Linked DNA regions of Homo sapiens: all the other regions are linked to region 1. The links are contacts of gene promoters, found by promoter capture Hi-C in blood cells and fetal thymus (Javierre and others, 2016). All regions are on one chromosome and are shown on one strand. Each heading gives the region's core, a stretch centred on a gene start or on the middle of the fragment in contact. The rest is flanking DNA. Distances are from core to core; before and after follow the strand shown. Region 1 holds the start of CRTC3 (CREB regulated transcription coactivator 3). Region 2 has its middle 4.8 kb from the start of HDDC3. Region 3 overlaps BLM (BLM RecQ like helicase). Region 4 holds the start of LOC105370969 (a long non-coding RNA gene). Region 5 has its middle 43 kb from the start of IDH2. Region 6 has its middle 8.1 kb from the start of FURIN. Region 7 overlaps BLM (BLM RecQ like helicase).

Region 1 (2,700 bases), core at 59-2,558:
CTGTGGGGCGGAAGAAGAAATGAGAGTGGGGCCGTCGTTATGACTAATTTTGTATGTCTTTAATAAATCCCAAGTACATGCAGCAAAATGTATTGATGTCTGTTTAATCTTGATAGTGGGGGGCGTGGGTAGTATTAATATTATTTTCCGTACTCTTCCGTAGGCCTCTAATATTTCCCTCTTTACAGAACACTGACACACGCTCAGGGCTCCCCGGGACATCTTTGTGCACATCAACATTTATGCTGAGAGTAGCTTCTGGACTCCAAAGAGGAAACTCCCCGGGCACTGTGGCCCACGCCTGTTATCCCAGCACTTTGGGAGGCTGAGGTGGGCAGATCGCTTGAGCCCAGGCGTTCGAGACCAGCCTGGGCAAAATAGCGAGACCCACCCCCGCCCCCCATTGCTACAAAAACATTTACAAACTAGCCGGGCGTGGTGACCCCCGCCTGTGGTCCCAGCTGGTCGGGAGGCTGAGGTGGGAGGATCTTTTGAGCCCGGGAGGTCAAGGCCGCGGTGAGTCGAGATCGCACCACTACACTCCAGACCGGGCGACAGAGAAAGACATCCATTCACTCCCCCAAAAGAAGGGGAAATTCGCTGAGGCTGAGCGCTGGTTTCCCAAGGTGGGGCTGGCACCTGCTGAAGCTGCCACAGGAGTGGAGAGGCCGTAGGGAGACTTGGAAAGAACCTGGAAAGGGGGCCGGGGCTATGGAGCCAAGGCTGCAGCAGGGCTGGATGGTGTTTGTAGTTTGTGCAGAATAGGAGGCAGTTTTTAAAGCCGAGATACAGCTCTGGTTGACTGGAGCGGGGAGGGGTGGGTGTGAGAGGTCAGGAAACCAGCGGCTGGAGGCCGGGGGCCTGGAGCGGCAGGGCTGGCGGGCAGACGTTAGGCCCCAGGCAAAATGGGCGCACCCCCTGCGGGGGCCCGAGGTGACCTGCTCGAGGTCCGGTCGCCCAGGTTCCACCTGGAGAAGAAAATCTTCGTAATTTGGCTGGGGGAGGGGGGATGCGGGCACAGGCTGTGTTCTCCACGTCGCGTAGACGCAGAGGCCATCCCTGGGTCGGAGAGTCTCCGTGGAGTGGCACCCCAGCGTTCCCCGTACGCCGGGGCCACTTTGTCGGGCTGACGGGGGTCCCTCCAGGTGGCCGCCGGCGGCGGGTCCCGAGCCAGACCGGGAAGCGGGGAGCAGCCCTCAGCCCGCGAGCGTGGGGCCGGGGCAGACTGGAGGCCGGGCGGGCCCCGCCGAGGGTGGGGCGGGGCCGGGCGCACGGGGGCGGACCTCGGCGCGCTCCCGGCCGCTCGCTGGCTCCGGGGCCGCGGCGGCTCCTCTGCCGGGTCGCGCCGGACGACTGGCTTCGGGCGGCGGCCCCGGCGGCCTGTGGACGGACGGGTGGGCCGAGGTACAGGCCCCACGGCCGCCGTCTCCCGCTTCTGCCCGCGCAGAGTCCGCGCCATGGCCGCCTCGCCGGGCTCGGGCAGCGCCAACCCGCGGAAGTTCAGTGAGAAGATCGCGCTGCACACGCAGAGACAGGCCGAGGAGACGCGGGCCTTCGAGCAGCTCATGACCGACCTCACCCTGTCGCGGGTGAGGGCCCGGGCCGGCGCGGGCGGGGGCGGCCACGGCCGCGGGCGGGACCCGCGCGGCGGGTGAGAGGTTGCGGGGCCAAGGCGATGGCGGGGCCGGGCGGGGGCCGCGCCCGGGAACCGGCGGCTGGGAGGGGGACCGGAGCGGCCGCGGCCTCGGCGTTTCCCCGCCTGGCGACACCCGCTAGCCGTTCGCGATCCCGGGCTGAGGTGGGAGGGTCGCCCGGCCCCGTGTGCGGGAAGATGGGCAGGGGTGAAGCCCGTGGAGGCGGGCGGCCGTGCGAGGGCGGCCTGAGGGGGAGGAGGACGAGGAGCCCCGAGAGGAAATCGCAAACAGCTCGGAGGCCGGCCGGGTGGCGCGGCGCGGCTTCTGGTCGCTCCGAACATCCCCCACCATCGAGCCCTGCTGTTCTGCCGGCGTGGAAGGCCGCGGGCACCCCAGGGTCCCACGCGCTCGTGGGGGGAGCTCTGTGCACAAGTCCATCCAGGGCCCGGCCCTGGGGTGGCTCGGGTTGTTGGAACCACGACGGGATTCCGTGTCGAGTGTGAGGCTCTGCTCCTTTTACTCCTTGGAGGTGCTTTATCGGGTCCAGTTTACTTTGTTCGGCCCGGGATATTTAGTGAGAACTGACAAGCGTCGCTGGTGACTGGAGAGGGACCTGGAGGAATGAGTAAGGCGCGAGCCGGGACAAACACCTGGAGAGGTTAGGTAACCGCTGAGTGAGGCAGTGGAGGATGGAGAGCCAACCGGAGTGTCCGCGCAGGGTTGCAGAGAAGGGGGGTCAGCAGGAGTGGGGCTGGCCTTGAGGATCCTGAATGCTGACCTTGGAGGACCATCGGGAGGATGGGGGAGGATCTGCAGATTCTGGGGGACTGAGGCGGGGGAGACAGTTTGAAGGAGAGCTGAGAGCAGAGTTGCAAACCAGCTGAGTTGCAGACACATTATTTTTTGGCCAGCGCAGTGTTTGGGAAAAATTATTGAATCTGTTGCCAGAATTTTTAAATTGGAAGACTTCCACACAAAATCCAAATTTCCGTATTATTTATTTATTATTATTTATATATGTTAAAAATTGGGAGACCTGGTAACACTAATTCTGAATTCCTACATG
Region 2 (2,700 bases), core at 27-2,526, 400 kb after region 1:
GGTGGCGGGCGCCTGTAGTCTCAGCTACTTGGGAGGCTGAGGCAGGAGAATGGCATGAACCCGGAGGCAGAGGTTTTAGTGAGCCGAGATCGCGCCACTGCACTCCAGCCTGGGCGACAGAGTGAGACTCCGTCTCAAAACAACAACAACAACAACAAACAAACAAATAAATAAATAAACAGGCCAGGTGCAGTGGCTCATGTCTATAATCCCAGTACTTTGGGAGGCCAACGTGGGCAGATCACTTGAGGTCAGGAGTTTGAGACTAGCCTGGCCAACGTGGTGAAACCCTGTCTCTACTAAAAATACAAAAAAACCCAAAAACCAGAAAAATCAAAATGTAGCGGGGCATGCTGGTGTGTGCCTATAGCCTGTAATCCCAGCTACTTGGAAGGCTGAGGCAGAAGAATCGCTTGAACCTGGGAGATGGAGGTTGCAAATAGCCAAGATCATGCCACTGCACTTCATCCTGAGCGACAGAGCACGACTCCGTCTCAAAAAAATTAAAACAATTTAAAAAACCTCGTGTAGATATATTGCAAATTACGTAAGATAAAACCTAAAGGCCAGGCACGGTGGCTCACGCCTGTAATTCCAGCACTTTGGGAGGCCAAGGTGGGTGGATCACCTGAGGTCAGGAGTTTGAGATCGGCCTGGCCCACATGGCAAAACCCTGTCTGTACTAAAAATACAAAAATTAGCTGGGCTGGTGGCATGCGCCTGTAGTCAAAGCTACTCAGGAGGCTGAGGCAGAAGAATAGCTTAAACCAGGGAGGTGGAGGTTGCAGTTAGCTGAGATCATGCCACTGCACTCCAGCCTTGGCAATAGAGTGAGTGGGATTCACTCTCAAAAGAGAAAGGCAAATATAAGAACTTATTGAGAAACTGCAGGAATGAATATAACCTGTTGTACAACCATGGTTTAACTGTAGATTTTTAGCCTAGCTTTTTTTTTTTTTTTTTTTTTTTTGAGACGGAGTCTAGCTCTGTCGCCCAAGCTGGAGTGCAGTGGCGTGATCTCGGCTCACTGCAACCTCTGCCTCCCAGGTTCAAGTGATTCTCCTGCCTCAGCCTCCCAAGTAGCTGGGACTAAAGGCGCCCGCCACCACGCCTGGCTAATTTTTTGTAGTTTTAGTAGAGACAGGGTTTCACCGTGTTAGCCAGGATGGTCTTGATCTCCTGACCTCATGATCCACCCGCCTCGGCCTCCCAAAGTGTTGGGATTACAGGCGTGAGCCACCACACTGGCCTTTTTTTTTTTTTTTTTTTTTGAGACGGAGTCTTGCTCTGTCTCCCAGGCTGGAGTGCAGTGGCATGACCTTGGCTCACTGCAACCTCCGCCTCCTGGGTTCAAGTGATTCTCCTGCCTCAGCCTCCCGAGTAGCTGGGACTACAGGTGCCCGCCACCATGCCCGGCTAATTTTTTTGTATTTTTAGTAGAGACGGGGTTTCACCATGTTAGCCAGGATGGTCTCGATCTCCTGACTTCGTGATCCACCCGCCTGGGCCTCCCAAATTGCTGGGATTACAGGCGTGAGCCTCTGCACCCAGCCTGCCTAGTGTGTTTCTTTGGAACTTATCAAAATGTCTCTGGAGGCCGGGCACGATGGCTTCATGCCTGTAATCCCAGCACTTTGGGAGGCCAAGGCAGGCGGATAACTTGAGGTCAGGAGTTTGAGACCAGCCTGGCCAGCATGGTGAAACCCTGTCTCTACTAGAAATACAAAAATTAGCCGGGCGTGGTGGCACACATCTGTAATCCCAGCTACTAGGGAGGCTGTGGCATAAGAATCGCTTGAACCCAGGAGGCAGAGGTTGCAGTGAGCCGAGATTGCGCCACTGTACTCCAGCCTGGGTGACAGAGCGAGAATCCATCTTAAAAAAAAAAAAAGGCTCTGGAACATTTCATTTCCTGTTTTGTTACTGACCTGTGACTCTGTAAAAGTCTACTTTCGCAATTTGGATTAATAATTTTATGAATGCAAATTGGAGATGCTGTTCAAAAAAAAAAAAATAGAAAAGTCTTACAAAGGAAAGACAATCACAGTGATAGCAGACATCTAGTTAGCTACAGTAGACACCTGGAGTCCATTCAAACCTAGAGAAAACTCAGCCTTGAATTTGCTATCAGCTACACCATTCAAGAGCACGGGGGAAATGAAGACATTTTCAGACATGCAAAGACTCAACAGTTTGCAATGTACAAAACTTTAGTGGAAGAAAGTAGGTGTACTTAAGCAAAAAGAGAATTTGTCTAGGGGCATAAACTAATGAGAGGGAGGGTACACCTAAATACTGGCTATAAATGTAATACTAGTTTATAGTTTAAAAAGAGGCAGGAACTAAAATTCTAGAAAGCAATATTGTGAAGAGTTATTCAAGGCTGGGCACAGTGGCTCACGCCTGTAATCCCAGCACTTTGGGAGGCTGAGGTGGGCAGATCACCTGAGGTCAGGAGTTCGAGACCAGTGTGGCCAACTTAGTGGAACGCCATCTCTACTAAAAAATAAAAAATAAAAAAATCCAAAAACAGGTACTAAGAGGACAGACCTTGCATCAAATGGTGCTAGGAAAACTGGACATCCACAAGCAAAACCATACATCATATATTTTGTATATGGTGTATATACAAAAAAATTACACCATATACAAAAATTAACCCAAAATGTTCTTGCCACAAAAACAACAAAAAATTGGGTA
Region 3 (2,700 bases), core at 34-2,533, 260 kb after region 1:
ATAAAAAATATGGTTAAACAATAGGGGTTTATAAAAACCTAATTATTTCTGCTCTCAGACTAATTAATCCTTACAGTCAGCATGTAATATTAGCCTACACCAGCTCGACAGACTTGATCTCGTTAGATTCATGAGATAGAATAAAACTTGGCCATTATTCTTCACAAAGAATGATTGTGGCTTGAAGTTTTAAAAGCGCAGAAATAAAGAAGGAAATCACAATTAAACAAAGCCACTTTTCCCAATTTCAAGAAATAAGAGCTTTCAGAAAGAGTTGGCAGCCTTGCATCCTCATCTGGAGGCTGCAGGCGGTGCCTCACAGCCCTGTGCCCGCCCTGATACTGGGAGATGCACCTGGACTTCATGGAACCCTGTGGGTCATGCTTCCGGACCTGTCGGCTGACACATCTTGCTGTGCAGCTTCTCCACCTGCTCTCCATCACTAGAAGCTACAATAGTCTTTCTGTTTCCAAGGAGATTTGCCTTTGATCAGAGTGCCATAAATGTAGATGGATGACTAACCGAGAGCGCAGGCCACTCACCGCCATTCCTGGTGTTGATAAATGTACCCCTTTACTGTCCACATACTCCAGAGCTTGCAGTTCCTTCCGCTGGTACTCACAGTTACTGAAATCATGTCATTAGTCTCAGTCTGCCTGCCAGATATTTCAGATGCCTTTGAAATACTGTTCTTGCAGTAGCAATTCATTTTTTTAAGTGCTAAAAAAAAACTTGCAGTTTTATTTGTGAAGTGTAATTTTGCCTGGAGATATAACATTTTGGTCTGGGTTAAATAGCTCCTAAATTCTCAACTGAAATGGATATCCTTGAAAACTGATTTATCAAGCTCCTGAGAGTGAACTATCACCTTGCTTCCACTAAGTAATTTGTAAGGTCTAAGATCCGCAGTCCCTGGTGTTTTTTTTTTTTTTTTTTTTTTTTTTTTTTTTTTTTGGTATAAGTAGCTCTCAGACTTTTACCCACATGAGTTTCCATTAAAATTGTACAAGCTTTGACTTTAAATCAGCTGATGAATAGAAGGAGTTGATGTGTGATCAGCTGGTGCTATTGGGAAAACTGATGATAAGCAGTGGAGCAGGTAAGAACGTATTGTTCCTGAACCATTGGAGGAACTAGCAGCAGTGACCTCTGAGGAGCCCTGGGAACACCCTGGAGCTCCTGAGCAACACGTTGCTTGTGATCACTGACCTGGATATCATGACTGTGTGAGCAACACCCCCCACACCTCAGTAGCAAAAACAGAGAACAGTGGCAGCACATCGTGGGCTGACTGCAGTTGATTCTGGCTCTCTTACATGAGAATGCCAAGTCATACAAGAAAGTGCCTGCCATGCTGAGCTTCTCTTTACCTTCTTGGGTTTTAATGGCATTGCAAGTTATCAGTATAAAAACTCATATTAGTTATACTAAATAGTTGGACCAAGTTAAGATATTAGGTTGTTATGTAGTGTGCATTTTAAAGTAAAACAAATGATAGAGCTTTTAGAAGCATCTATTATGAAAATGTTCCTTCAAGTCTGTGCCTTATGAATCTAATAAGCTTTTGCTTTTATATCAGGTTATCTGTGCTACAATTGCATTTGGAATGGGGATTGACAAACCGGACGTGCGATTTGTGATTCATGCATCTCTCCCTAAATCTGTGGAGGGTTACTACCAAGAATCTGGCAGAGCTGGAAGAGATGGGGAAATATCTCACTGCCTGCTTTTCTATACCTATCATGATGTGACCAGACTGAAAAGACTTATAATGAGTAAGCTGGGCTCCATTGTAGAGACATTCTGTCATCTTCAGCCTCATGATAGTAGTCTACTCCTGCTATTGTGGTACTTCTGGTCCAGTTTTCCTTAAATAATCGTAGAAAAATAGAGGAGTTTATACAGATTGGCAATTTTATTTTAGTTCATTTTTATTATAAAAGTGGTAAGTGCTTATTTTGTAAAACTCAAATGATACAGATGTGTACAAGGCAGAAAATTTACAAACCATGCCTTGTAGTTTTGCCCCCAAAATAACTCTAGTTATTGGTTTCCTTTGTATCCTTTCAGACCCTATTTCTGCATGCATTCTTGCATGTAACACATATTTCAAACATGCAGGAAGATAAAAAGGAGAAAATAATGAGCTGTCATATACTACCATCTGGATTAAGAAATAAAACACAATCAATCGAGCTGAACCCCTCCCCACCACCCCATAGCCTCTCTTGTCTCATCCGTCCTCTCCCATTAGAGGCAGGCAAATATCTTGTATTTGGTATGTACCTTTTCCAAATGCACATATTTTAAAATGTAAATGGGATTATATTATACATACTTTATATATATAATGACCCGATTTTTTTCAGTCAACAGTAGGATGTAATTATCATTCCAATGAATACATACAGCCTGACTACCTAGAATTCCGTAGTATGGTTATTCCATGGTTATTAAACTAATCCCCTCTTACTAGATCTTGTTTATTGTTTTTCACTGTTATCAACAATGCAGTATTGAACATCCCTCCCTATACAAATATCTTTGGGCATTTTTGCAGTTACTTATATAAGATTTTTTTTTTTTCAAGACCGAGTCTCACTCTGTCACCCAGGCTGCAGTGCAGTGGCAGAATCTTGGCTCACTGCAACCTCCGCCTCCCGGGTTCAAGCGATTTTCTCACTTCAGCTTCCAGAGTAG
Region 4 (2,700 bases), core at 183-2,682, 310 kb after region 1:
CTCTGTCACCCAGGCTGGAGTGCAATGGCACAATCTCGGCTCACTACAACCTCCACCTCCCAGGTTCAAGCGCTTCTCCTGCCTCAGCCTCCCAAATAGCCAGGACTACAGGCATGTGCCACCACGCCCGGCTAATTTTTGTATTTTTAGTAGAGATGGGGTTTCACCATGTTGGTCAGGCTGGTCTTGAACTCCTGACCTCAGGTGATCTGCCCGCCTCGGCCTCCCAAAGTGCTGGGATTGCAGGCATGAGCCACCGCGCCCGGTTCAGCCCCCTTCTCTTTCAGCTCAGGCCCCCCTGCCCCTGCAGAGCCTTGGGAAGTGTCACCCCACACCAACTCCACCAGCTCCTACGAAAGCACCCCCAAATCATACCCTCTAGGCACCGCAGCAAAAGCAGCTTCAGGGCAATCCCCCAGCACAACCTCACCCCTTCCTGAGACTGGTGGGTGAGCTGAGGTCACCCGCCGCTGCCAGCAGGGCTGGGTAAATCTCGGAGCAGGCGGGGGCGAGGGCGGGGGCTGTCACCGCGGTGTTGCCTGACGCACCCTCCTCCCCAGCTCAGGAAATTGTGAGGTGAACTCTTCCCCTCCAGAGCGCTGTCTGCTGTGAAGGCGGCTCAGGCCCCCAACACACACATAGCAGGTGACAGGTAGGGCCCAAGCACTGGAGTCCCCGCTCCTCCCTGAAGACCTATCAGGGCATCTCTGGGACTGTGTTCCTGCTCTCCCTGCTCTGCACGCTCCCCCACCCTACAGTTCCCACGGGGCCAAACTTCGGTCAGAATCACCTTTATTGCACAGCCGCTCTGTACGCCAGGGGCTCATCACACATACAAGGTCGGTGGATTGTCCCCATCTTACAGATGAGGGAGCGGAGGCAGGGCGTGCAGAAGGGGCCACTCGTGGCCACGGAGCGGGGACTGGCAGGCCCATTGTCGTCAGCGGACTCCTCAGCCCCAGTGCCAGGCAAGGACTAGAGCCATGGAAAGCAGGGACGCTGAGTCCCTGGGGCGTTTGGGGCATCCCCAGCTGACGCATTTGTTGCAGCCTCTAGGGGCATGGAATAGGCAAAGTGCCCACATGGGGGTGCAAGAACTGATGCCCCCACCCCCCACTTTGTGAGTACACCCCATGGAACCTCGTTCTTTTTTTGAGACAGAGCCTCACTTTGTTACCCAGGCTGGAGTGCAGTGGCATGATCTTGGCTCACTGCAACCTCCGCCTCCTGGGTCCAAGCGATTCTCCTGCCTCAGCCTCCCAGGTAGCTGGGATTACAGGCATGCACCACCACGCCCAGCTAATTTTTGTATTTTTCGTAGAGATGGGGTTTCTCCGTGTTGGCCAGGCTGGTCTCAAACTCTTGACCTCAGGTGATCTGCCTGCCTCAGCTTCCCCAAGTGCTGGGATTACAGACATGAGCCACTGCACCCAGCCCCAAACCTCATTCTTTTTATGGGGTCATTCTTTGTATGGACGTCCAGAATCACCAATCCCCTACTGTTGGACATGCAGGTTATTTCTAGTCTTTTGCTAAGACAAGCAGTGTTGTGATGACTACACTATCCTACATCCCTTGGCATGTGGGTGTGTGTAGGATAAATGTTCTGGGCACCAGGCTCCAGCAGGCCCCACGAACAGGACTCTGGGCCTTATGCCAGGAGGGGGAAGATTCAAAGAGGGCCCCTCACCTGGGTCTGACCCAAACCCACACCAAAGCCAGCAGGTCATCCAGAGCTGATTCCCTGGGAAGCCTGCCCAGGAACCACCGTCCGTCGGGCTTTCTTATTGTAAGAGCTTTTTTTTTTTTTTCCTCCTTTGGCAGAGCACAGCGCTGGGCTCCAGCCCTGATGCAGAGGTACAAAGCTCGTCTGGGCAGATTGTTATGCAAATCAAAAGAGGAAGCAGAGCTAGGGGAGCCGAGGAGCTCCTGCTGGGCTCTGCCAGGGAAGAAGCCGCAGTAGGAGCCCCTACGTAGGCCCTGCAAGAGGCCTGGCGTTCAGGAAAGGGCCCGCTGACCATCCAGTGCAGGGAAAGGAGTCCAGCTCTGGCCTCTGCCCCTCAGCTCCACCTCCTGCATTCCTAGGAGTTCTCCAGAGGATCTGATGGGAGCTCAGAACCGGTCCCAACAGGTACTGTGACGCGATGGCCATTTTCCTTCCCTTTACCACTGTGCCCCCCTCCCCCCACTGCAGGGACGTCCCCTGGGGCGTCTCTGTGCCCATGCCCCATTGGGCGCCTCCTCTCAGCCCAGCCCCCTCCACACTGTATTGTCTCCTTAGCCGTGAGCTCCATGAGAGCAGGGTGTGCCCAGGTCACTGTTGTCTCCCCAGTGCCCGGCACAGTGCCTGGCACATCATAGATGCCCCGTGCTCCTACACCAACGAACTCCCCTGACAGCACCACATCCACGGGGAGCTAGGCCTCAGGGAACAAAGTGGTGCCTGGCTGAGGCACCCACGCAGGGCCTGTTCTTTTGTTTGAGACGGAGTCTCACTCGTTACCCAGCCCAGATTGCAGTGGCGCAATCTCGGCTCACTGCAACCTCCACCTCCTGGGTTCAAATGATTCTCCTGCCTCAGCCTCCTGAGTAGTTGCGATTATAGGCGTGCACCACCATGCCCGACTAATTTTTGTATTTTTAGTAGAGACGGCTTCACATGTTGGCCAGGCAAGTCTCAAACTCCTGACCTCAGGTGAT
Region 5 (2,700 bases), core at 69-2,568, 380 kb before region 1:
ACTTTGGGAGGCCAAGACAGGCAGATCACAAGGACAAGAGTTCGAGACCAGCCTGGCCAACATGGTGAAACCCCGTCTTTACTAAAAATTAAAGAATTAGCCGGGGGTGGTGGCATGCGCCCGTAGTCCCAGCTACTCAGGAGGCTGAGGCAGGAGAATTGCTTGAACCTGGGAGGCAGAAGCTGTAGTGAGCTGAGATCGCACCACTGTACTCCAGCCTGGGCCACAGAGCAAGACTCCATCACCAAAAAAAAAAAAAGAAAAGAAAAAAAAAAAGTCCTTCGAGGCTGGGTGCAGTGGCTCACTCCTGTGATCCCAACACTTTGGGAGGCTGAGGCGGGCGGATCACCTGAGGTTGGGAGTTCAAGACCAACATGACCAACATCGAGAAACTCCATCTTACTAAAAATACAAAATTAGCTGGGTGTGGCAGCACATGCCCGTAATCCGAGCTACTCGGGAGGCTGAGGTAGGAGAATCACTTGAACCCAGAGGCGGAGGTTGCAGTGAGCTGAGATCACGCCATTGCACTCCAGCCTGGGCAACAAGAGTCTCAAAAAAAAAAAAAAAGCCCTTTGGTCTCCCCGCCACTGTGAAATTCTCAGTGGACACATACCTCCCAGGCTCTGCCCTTGCCATTTTGTTTTCTCCCTCCCTCCTCCCTCCTTCACCCTTCATTTCTATGACCATCTTTCCATTTCTTCTTCTCTTTTGGGGTCCCTCGCCCCCAAGTTCCGGTTAACGTTCTCTGTAAAGCCGTTTGATTCCTCCTGTGTTTAAACATCTTCCTTCAACTATGTCCTTAGCACCTCCCCTTCCTCAACAAAAGTGGCTATCAAGATATTTTCCTAAACAAAAACCGGTCTCACCCTGCTAAATGCATTGGAAACTTACCACCTGGTGTATATATTGGCCTCCTGAGCAATTGATTAGTCTGAGTCCACAGCTGGGACCTGGCTCTCCTCTCCACCAGCTGCCAGGCGGAGGGCAGACCCAGGGCCCCAGGGGTGAATTTGTCAGGGCAAAGGCCTCTGTGGGCAGCCTCTTGGCAGCCTGCCAGTAGCCCCTTCTGGCAGCGTCCCACCTCTCCCGGCATCACAGATCAAGCCTCAGAAGAGCAGGGCCTAAGGAGAAAACCCGAGAGTGACGATGGCAAAGAGTGATCACAACACCCCAGGTGGGTGGACTCCGGGGGAACGCAGAGGTACTCGGGCCCAGAGCTGGTGGGAGAGGGGAGGTGATGGGAAACTGGACACCCAGAAAGTCCCACCAGCATGGAAATCCACTGGGGGGCTCAGCACCCCTGGAGAGGCACTGGGAGTTGGGAGGATCAAAGGAAAGACAGGGCTCTCACTGCCGGTGAATAGGACAAGCTGGGAAGGAAACAGACAATGCTTTCCAGGTTGGATTGCCAAGGCAGAGAGGCAAGAGAGGGGATGGAGAGAAGTCTTCAAAACTGCCATTCAAGGCCAGGCACAGTGGCTCTCCACCTGTAATCCCAACACTTTGGGAAGTTGAGGCAGGAGGATCGCTTGAGCCTAGGAGTTTGCGACCAGCCTGGGCAACATAGCAAGACCCCGTCTCTAAAAAAGTAGAAAACTTAGCAGGACATGGTGGTGTATGCCTATAGTCAGAGCTATTCAGAAGGCTGAGGTGAGAGGACTGTGTGAGCCCAGAACATCTAGGCTGCAGTGAGCTGACATCACACCACTACACTCATTCAGCCTGGACGACAAAGTGAGACCCTGTCACAAAAAAAGAAAAAAAAAAAAAACAGGCCAGGCATGGTTGCTCATGCTCATAATCCTAGCACTTTGGGAGTTTAAGGCAGGCAGATTGCCTGAGTTCAGTAGTTTGAGACCAGCCTGGCCAACATGGTGAAACCCGGTCTCTACTAAAAATACAAAAATTAGCCAGGCATGGTGGGGAGCACCTGTAATCCCAGCTACTCAGGAGGCTGAGGCATGAGAATCACTTGAACCTGGGAGGCGGAGGTTGCAGTGAGCTGAGATCGCACCACCGCACTCCAGCCTGGGTGAAAGAACTAGACTCCATTTCAAAACAAAACAAAAACCAAAAAACTGCTCTTCAATAAGCCCTTACCACGTGTCAGGCACTGAACACTGACAGCAGCTAACAATTACACTGACTTACTCCACACCAGGCTTGTTCTAAGCAGCTGCTGTCCAATAAACACATAATGCAAGCCACATAGGTAGTTTTGTTGTTGTTGTTAATGTTTGTTTTTGGGTTTTTTTTGAGATGGAGTTTCACTCTTGTTGCCCAGGCTGGAGTGCAATAGTGTGATCTTGGCTCACCGCAACCTCCGCCTCCCGGGTTCAAGTGACTCTCCTGCCTCAGCCTCCCGAGTAGCTGGGATTACAGGCATGTGCCACCATGCCCGGCTAATTTTGTATTTTTAGTGGAGATGGGGTTTCTCCATGTTGGTCAGGCTGGTCTCAAACTCCAGACCTCAGGTGATCCGCCCGCCTCGGCCTCCCAAAGTGCTAGGATTACAGGCGTGAGCCACTGCGCCTGGCCTAGTAGTTGTTTTTTAATTTATTAATTTACTTTTCACCATGGCAGAAAAGAGCGTAGTTTTAAAAACTCTAGTAGCTGCATTTTTAAAAGTAAAAACAAAAAACCCACTGGTGAAATTAATTGTAATAATATATTCTATTTAGACTGAGTGTGGTGGCT
Region 6 (2,700 bases), core at 100-2,599, 330 kb after region 1:
AGCCGAGATCGCGCCACTGCACTCCAGCCTGGGCGACAGAGCGAGATTCCGTCTCAAAAAAAAAAAAAAAAAAAAAAAAGAAATGTCTTTCATAATGTAAGAAACTAGATTTTTTTTTTTTGTAATAGGGAAGGGTTGAATTCTAGTAGAAGCTGAAACCCAGATAAAAAGATTGCGAATACCCAAATCCAATCATAGGGAGCCAAGTGAAGGCCATCCTGGGAGCCGCATGATGGCAGCACACAGCTGGAGCTCTAACAGTTCCTGGCACCTAGAGCCAAACGGACAGGGGAACTGGGTTTTCACAATCAATTGTATTGATCTAGGAAAACTGAAACCAAATTACTATGTGGGGCAAGAGGCTTACCGGAAAGTGCTGGGCTATCTGGTCCTGGTGGGGAGGAGGAAGGGTGCTTGTGTTCTCAGGCCTGGATCTGAGGAAGTGGGTGCAGAGATGCAATGGCACCATCCCTGGCTGCTGGCTTGGGTCTCTGTGTACCTTCTCTGGGGACCCTTACCAAGACAGGGGCTTTGGCAGGCCTGGAAGTACCTGTGCATTAGAGAGGGTTTGGGCATTTGTTGTGTAAATGCCTTAGTGTGAGTCAGTCCCCAGGAGCCTGGTTGGCCTCAGCTGCCCTGATCTTTGAGGGCCAGACTCCCACCCTGGAGCTGTTGTTAAGGAGGGTGGCAGCCAGGTCCCCACAGGACACCCCGGGTCATCGTTTTGGGGCTGGTACACTTAACACATCTGTTGCCCCAGCAGTATGGGAAGCTCAGACCTGTTCCATGACTTGGTAACTAAGCTTGGGCTGAGCCTCTGACTCCAGGCCTTCCTGGCCGCCCTATCTCACCCTTCTCATTAAACAAAGTTGGAGCTGCAGATTCCAGCTCCAACGGGGATTAACGACAGGCCCAGGACAGGGAAAGAACAAACGGCAGTGACAGGAGAGGAAGTGGGAGATGAAGTAAGACAGGACAGGATGGGAGGAGGGTGAAAGGCCAGAGGGAGATACTGGCCACAAGTCTGCACTTTCATCTTTTCTTTTTTTTTATTTTTATTTTTTTTGAGATGGAGTCTCACTCTCTTGCCCAGACTGGAGTGCAGTGGCTCCATCTCAGCTCACTGCAACCTCCGCCTCCTGGGTTCAAGTGATTCACCTGCCTCAGCCTCCCGAGTAGCTGGGATCACAGGCACATGCCATCACGCCAGGCTAATTTTTGTATTTTTAGTGGAGACGGGGTTTTGCCGTGTTGGCCAGGCTGGTCTCCAACTCCTGACCTCAGGTGATCTGCCTGCCTCGGCCTCCTGTAGTGCTGGGATTACAGGTGTGAGCCACCGCGCCCGGCATGTGCTTTCATCTTTTTAAAAAAATTTTTTATAGAGGAGTCATTATCATGCTTTCTTGCCCAGGCTGGTTTTGAAATCCTGACCTCAAGTCATCCTCCTGCTTCGGCCTCCCAAAGCACAGGGATTACAGGCAGAAGCCACCATGCCTGGCCCTGTGCTTTCATCTTGAACACTGCCCAGCTCCAGCCTAGGGTGACCAGCCAGGGACACCGCAGGAACATGCGGAACTCTTAGTCCTTCGCCAAGACCTGACAGAGTGGCATTGTTACAGTCCTGGACATAGATCGTTATCTTCCAAGTGGTATTTTTGGCGTGTGTGTATTTATTCACTTTGATATTGGGTGAGAGGAATCAGGGTCATAAGGCCAGGTTTGGTGCAATTTCTCCCAGGACTTCAGGGAGAGGGGCCCTTAGGAGTCCAGGTCTCAACAGGGACTGTGACCACCACACTCCCTTTCCACTCTCTGCCCCAGGCTCCACATACCTTCCTTGCCCAGCCCAGCAGGCCTGGCCAAGGTGGGCAATTATGGCCAGGAACTGATGGCAAAAAGCTTAGTGAGGTCCATGCTCCCATCACAAACCCTTACTGATCCCTGGGGTCAGACAGACATGGGTTCAAATGCTGCCTCTACCACTTCCGATACATGTGACCTTGAGCAAGTTATTTAATCCCGCTAAGACTAAATGTTCTTATCTGTGAAATGGGTAGTGCTTATTTTATTATAGAGTTGCTGGGAGAATTAAATAAAACCTTGCACTTAAAACATTTAGCATGGTGCCAGCGCATAGCAAGTTGGCCATTACGATTATTTTCATTCGCATCATCGTCGGCTTGACCACCTTACAATTTATTGTTGACACAGGATTTCACTGCCCAAGTTTGCATTTGTGTTTATGATTGTGCTGGCATCGAGTAGTCCTGTTTAATTGCTGCTGGCTAACAAGAAAAGAACAGAGGCGGATTTAATGCGTAAATGATGCGTTGAAGCCAAGTGAAGGCCAAATGATGTAACAGCCCGCTGTGCAAACAAAAGTATTGCAGTAATTCAAATAGAGAAAGGTTGGGGAGAATTGAGTCATTCCCCAGAGCATGGCAGCATCTGTATACATGTCAAGCTCAAAAGCAGATCCGCTCTGAGTGGTCAGTCCCATATCGCTAAAAGTAGCAATGTGGTTTCAGGCAAACAACATCATCCTTCTCATTAAACAGATATTGTTACTTTAAATTTTATTGGGTTTGCAGTTTTGTTTATATTTACTAGGTACGTTTCTCCGATGTAGATGTACTGCTAAGTAAAAAAGAAATTGTAGTATGCTGCCTTTTGATTAAAAAGGGGAGTATAGGCCAGCCG
Region 7 (2,700 bases), core at 156-2,655, 280 kb after region 1:
ATTAGAAGGATGCAGTTGTGTGAATGCTTCCTACACCTCGTCACACTGACATCCAAGTCAGCCCCCAGTGGTGTGCCAGTCACCTCTGAGAGGACACTAGTGCTTATGCCCCCTGTGAGTGCCAGTTCTGAACTTACTCATAGGATCCAAAAGGGGACCTTTGGGCCCAGGGGTTGCTGGTTCCCGTAATGCAAGTGCTCAAGGGATCAGAGCCCTGGGTACCAGTTCCAGATCTGCCACCACGTCATGCTGTGTGGTCTCTAGCAGGCCACCAATAGCCTCTTTGTGAATCAGGTTCCTCCACCAAGGAAGGAACATGTTATCTGACAAACATGTCTAAAGATAAAATTTAAGACTAGTGTTTAAATGTTTTGGAGAAATGAGCATGCAGCTAGAATGTTATTATTGTTAGTCATTGATAGAACCTGCCTGAGTGCATCATTATCAGACGTTCCCGGAGTCACGTTAGGCCTGTCCTGTGGCACTTCTAATCATGAGCTTCATCATCATTACAGCTTTAGAAATCATTGACCTGGGGGAAATGAGAACAACAAAGCATTTTGTTGTAGGAAATATTGAGAGCACAGAAGTCTTCTGCCCTCTGATAACATCACCACGTAATAGGACACAACAGACAGGCCCGGTTCAGTGTTCTTCCTGCTTCCAGACAGGCAGTGTGGGGGTCTTCCCAAGGATGATGGAAATGATGAGCAGGATGAGATAGTTCAAGTTCTCTCTTTACCTAGTCGCTTTTTTTTTTTTTGACAGAGTCTCACTCCAGGCTGGAGTTCAGTGGCACAATCTTGGCTCACTATGCCTCCCAGATTCAAGCAATTATCCCACCTCAGCCTCCCCAGTAGCTGAGACTACAGGCATGCACCACCACACCTGACTTATTTTTGTATTTTTTTGGTAGAGTTGGGGTTTCACTATGTTGGCCAGGCTGGTCTTGAACTTACGACCTCAAGTGATCCACCTGCCTCAGCCTCCTGAAGTGCTGGGGTTACAGGCATGAGCCACCACACCTGGTCAGGTTCTCCTAAATTCTTCTATATGGTAATTAGTCCATTAAAAGCCTTGTTCCGAATACATTTTGACAGTGAGCCAGGGTTGGAGCAGCCATGGTGGAGTCCTGTGCCCTCCATGCTGCTCCTGTAGGGTGGCCTGTAGGACAAGGCAGACCAGCCAGGAAATGGAGACTGGGTCCCCGTGTGAGCTATCTATAGGGAGGTTTCATGCTTTTTGGGTGCCTTGGGATGCAAATACTTATGGAAATTACCATCTTCTTTGCAAATGTGTGCTTTCATGCGGTCTCACCTCCCGCATAATATGTGACATGTTCAGCCATATTGTGCAAAGACAAGTTTTTTTGTCTGTAAAGAGTAAAATAGGATCTAGAATTTTCTTATGTTCATTTACTAAGAAACTATTGTTCAAAGATGAGATACAGGACCGTTTGTTTCCCTTATATTGAGCTGATTTTTTCAGCACATTTAAAATAAGTAAAATTGCCTGCCATCTTTATAGCAGTTGATACTTTTTGAATTGCCTACCAGAACTAACTGCCCAATCAACAACAGGAACACAGGCCATATGCGACAGTATGAGCTAAACCTCATGTCTCTAGTTAACTTCAAGACTATCACAAATTTTTTTAATGAATTCTGATTCTCTTTTGTTAAAAATGAATTGCCATTGAACACTTTGGGGCTTTGTGCAGTAAAAAAAGGTTTGGTTCTTGCTGAATTGTTGAATCCATATGGCAGGGAAGCAGCTAGGTATCTGCTAAAATGGGCCCCTGCAGCGTGTCTCTTCATATACACTAAAAACACGTGGACCAGTGCGACATCACCTGTAAACATCTGCATTTTCCATTTGTAGCTGAAGACAGTTCCCCAGGGATAAGCCTGTCCAGCAGCAGAGGCCCCGGAAGAAGTGCCGCTGAGGAGCTCGACGAGGAAATACCCGTATCTTCCCACTACTTTGCAAGTAAAACCAGAAATGAAAGGAAGAGGAAAAAGATGCCAGCCTCCCAAAGGTCTAAGAGGAGAAAAACTGCTTCCAGTGGTTCCAAGGCAAAGGGGTATGTTTTGTGACATCTTTTTCAATATAGGGAACAAGGGAAGAAAGGACAAAAGTGCAACAGCTCTGCCTTGCTTTGAAGGATTTATTAAAATAAGCCATTATTAAATATTGCTAATGGAATGACAGTTGTTAATGGAGTGACAATTAAGGTTTGATCCAAAACAAAAATATTTGCTTCAAGAAACAACAAAAAATATTTGCTTCAGATGTTTAAAACATCTACTGACTAATAGTTATGACTAAAGTTTTCTTTCTTTTTTTAATTTGAGGACAAAGTCTGACTCTGTTGCCCAGGCTAGAGTGCAGTGGCACAATCTCGGCTCACTGCAACCTCTGCCTCCTGTACTCAAGTGATCCTCCCACCTCAGCCTCCTGAGTAGCTGGGACTCCAGGTGTATACCATCACTCCTGGCTAATTTTTGTATTTTTTGTACAGATGGAGTTTCCCCATGTTGCCCAGGCTGGTCTCAAACTCCTGAGCTCAAGTGATCAGCCCACTTTGGTCTCCCCAAAGTGCTGGATTACAGACGTGAGCCACCGCACTCAGCCTGACTAATGTTTCTTGTTTGCAAAGATGTCTTCCATGTTGATCTTCCCTTAGATATTTGTTTGCCT

What was found. The method cuts DNA at HindIII sites, captures the fragments that hold promoters and counts their contacts. A CHiCAGO score of 5 or more calls a contact.
Region 2: a fragment that was not itself captured here is called in contact with the fragment with the promoter of CRTC3 in region 1 in 2 of 17 cell types (naive CD4 T cells and naive CD8 T cells); the score reaches 5.6 in naive CD4 T cells.
Region 3: a contact is called between a fragment that was not itself captured here and the fragment with the promoter of CRTC3 in region 1, in 1 of 17 cell types (total B cells). The highest score is 6.6, in total B cells.
Region 4: a fragment that was not itself captured here is called in contact with the fragment with the promoter of CRTC3 in region 1 in 3 of 17 cell types (total B cells, activated CD4 T cells and total CD8 T cells); the score reaches 8.0 in total B cells.
Region 5: a contact is called between a fragment that was not itself captured here and the fragment with the promoter of CRTC3 in region 1, in 2 of 17 cell types (naive B cells and total B cells). The highest score is 5.5, in naive B cells.
Region 6: a contact is called between a fragment that was not itself captured here and the fragment with the promoter of CRTC3 in region 1, in 3 of 17 cell types (total B cells, naive B cells and fetal thymus). The highest score is 6.9, in total B cells.
Region 7: a fragment that was not itself captured here is called in contact with the fragment with the promoter of CRTC3 in region 1 in 3 of 17 cell types (monocytes, activated CD4 T cells and total B cells); the score reaches 5.7 in monocytes.

Annotation. Positions count from the first base shown.
Region 1 is chr15:90,528,615-90,531,314 of GRCh38, forward strand. It overlaps CRTC3 (CREB regulated transcription coactivator 3), which reads left to right and starts at 1,309. Exons shown (of 15, transcript NM_022769.5): 1 at 1,309-1,589. The coding sequence starts at 1,458. RefSeq lists silencers at 763-812, 913-1,662, 1,683-1,862 and an enhancer at 2,253-2,412. The HindIII fragment of the contact is 15,096 bases long and covers 1-2,700 here.
Region 2 is chr15:90,926,449-90,929,148 of GRCh38, forward strand. No RefSeq gene overlaps it. Among named protein-coding and RNA genes, the nearest start is that of HDDC3, 4.8 kb to the right of the region's middle. The HindIII fragment of the contact is 3,766 bases long and covers 1-2,700 here.
Region 3 is chr15:90,789,070-90,791,769 of GRCh38, forward strand. BLM (BLM RecQ like helicase) reads left to right here. Exons shown (of 22, transcript NM_000057.4): 15 at 1,580-1,775. Among named protein-coding and RNA genes, the nearest start is that of BLM, 73 kb to the left of the region's middle. The HindIII fragment of the contact is 551 bases long and covers 1,009-1,559 here.
Region 4 is chr15:90,837,770-90,840,469 of GRCh38, forward strand. LOC105370969 (a long non-coding RNA gene) reads left to right here and starts at 1,957. Exons shown (of 3, transcript XR_932610.3): 1 at 1,957-2,131. RefSeq lists an enhancer at 2,570-2,700. The HindIII fragment of the contact is 3,277 bases long and covers 1-2,700 here.
Region 5 is chr15:90,144,433-90,147,132 of GRCh38, forward strand. No RefSeq gene overlaps it. Among named protein-coding and RNA genes, the nearest start is that of IDH2, 43 kb to the left of the region's middle. The HindIII fragment of the contact is 7,167 bases long and covers 1-2,700 here.
Region 6 is chr15:90,859,109-90,861,808 of GRCh38, forward strand. No RefSeq gene overlaps it. Among named protein-coding and RNA genes, the nearest start is that of FURIN, 8.1 kb to the right of the region's middle. The HindIII fragment of the contact is 1,096 bases long and covers 802-1,897 here.
Region 7 is chr15:90,809,324-90,812,023 of GRCh38, forward strand. It overlaps BLM (BLM RecQ like helicase), which reads left to right. Exons shown (of 22, transcript NM_000057.4): 21 at 1,882-2,083. Among named protein-coding and RNA genes, the nearest start is that of FURIN, 58 kb to the right of the region's middle. The HindIII fragment of the contact is 4,622 bases long and covers 1-2,700 here.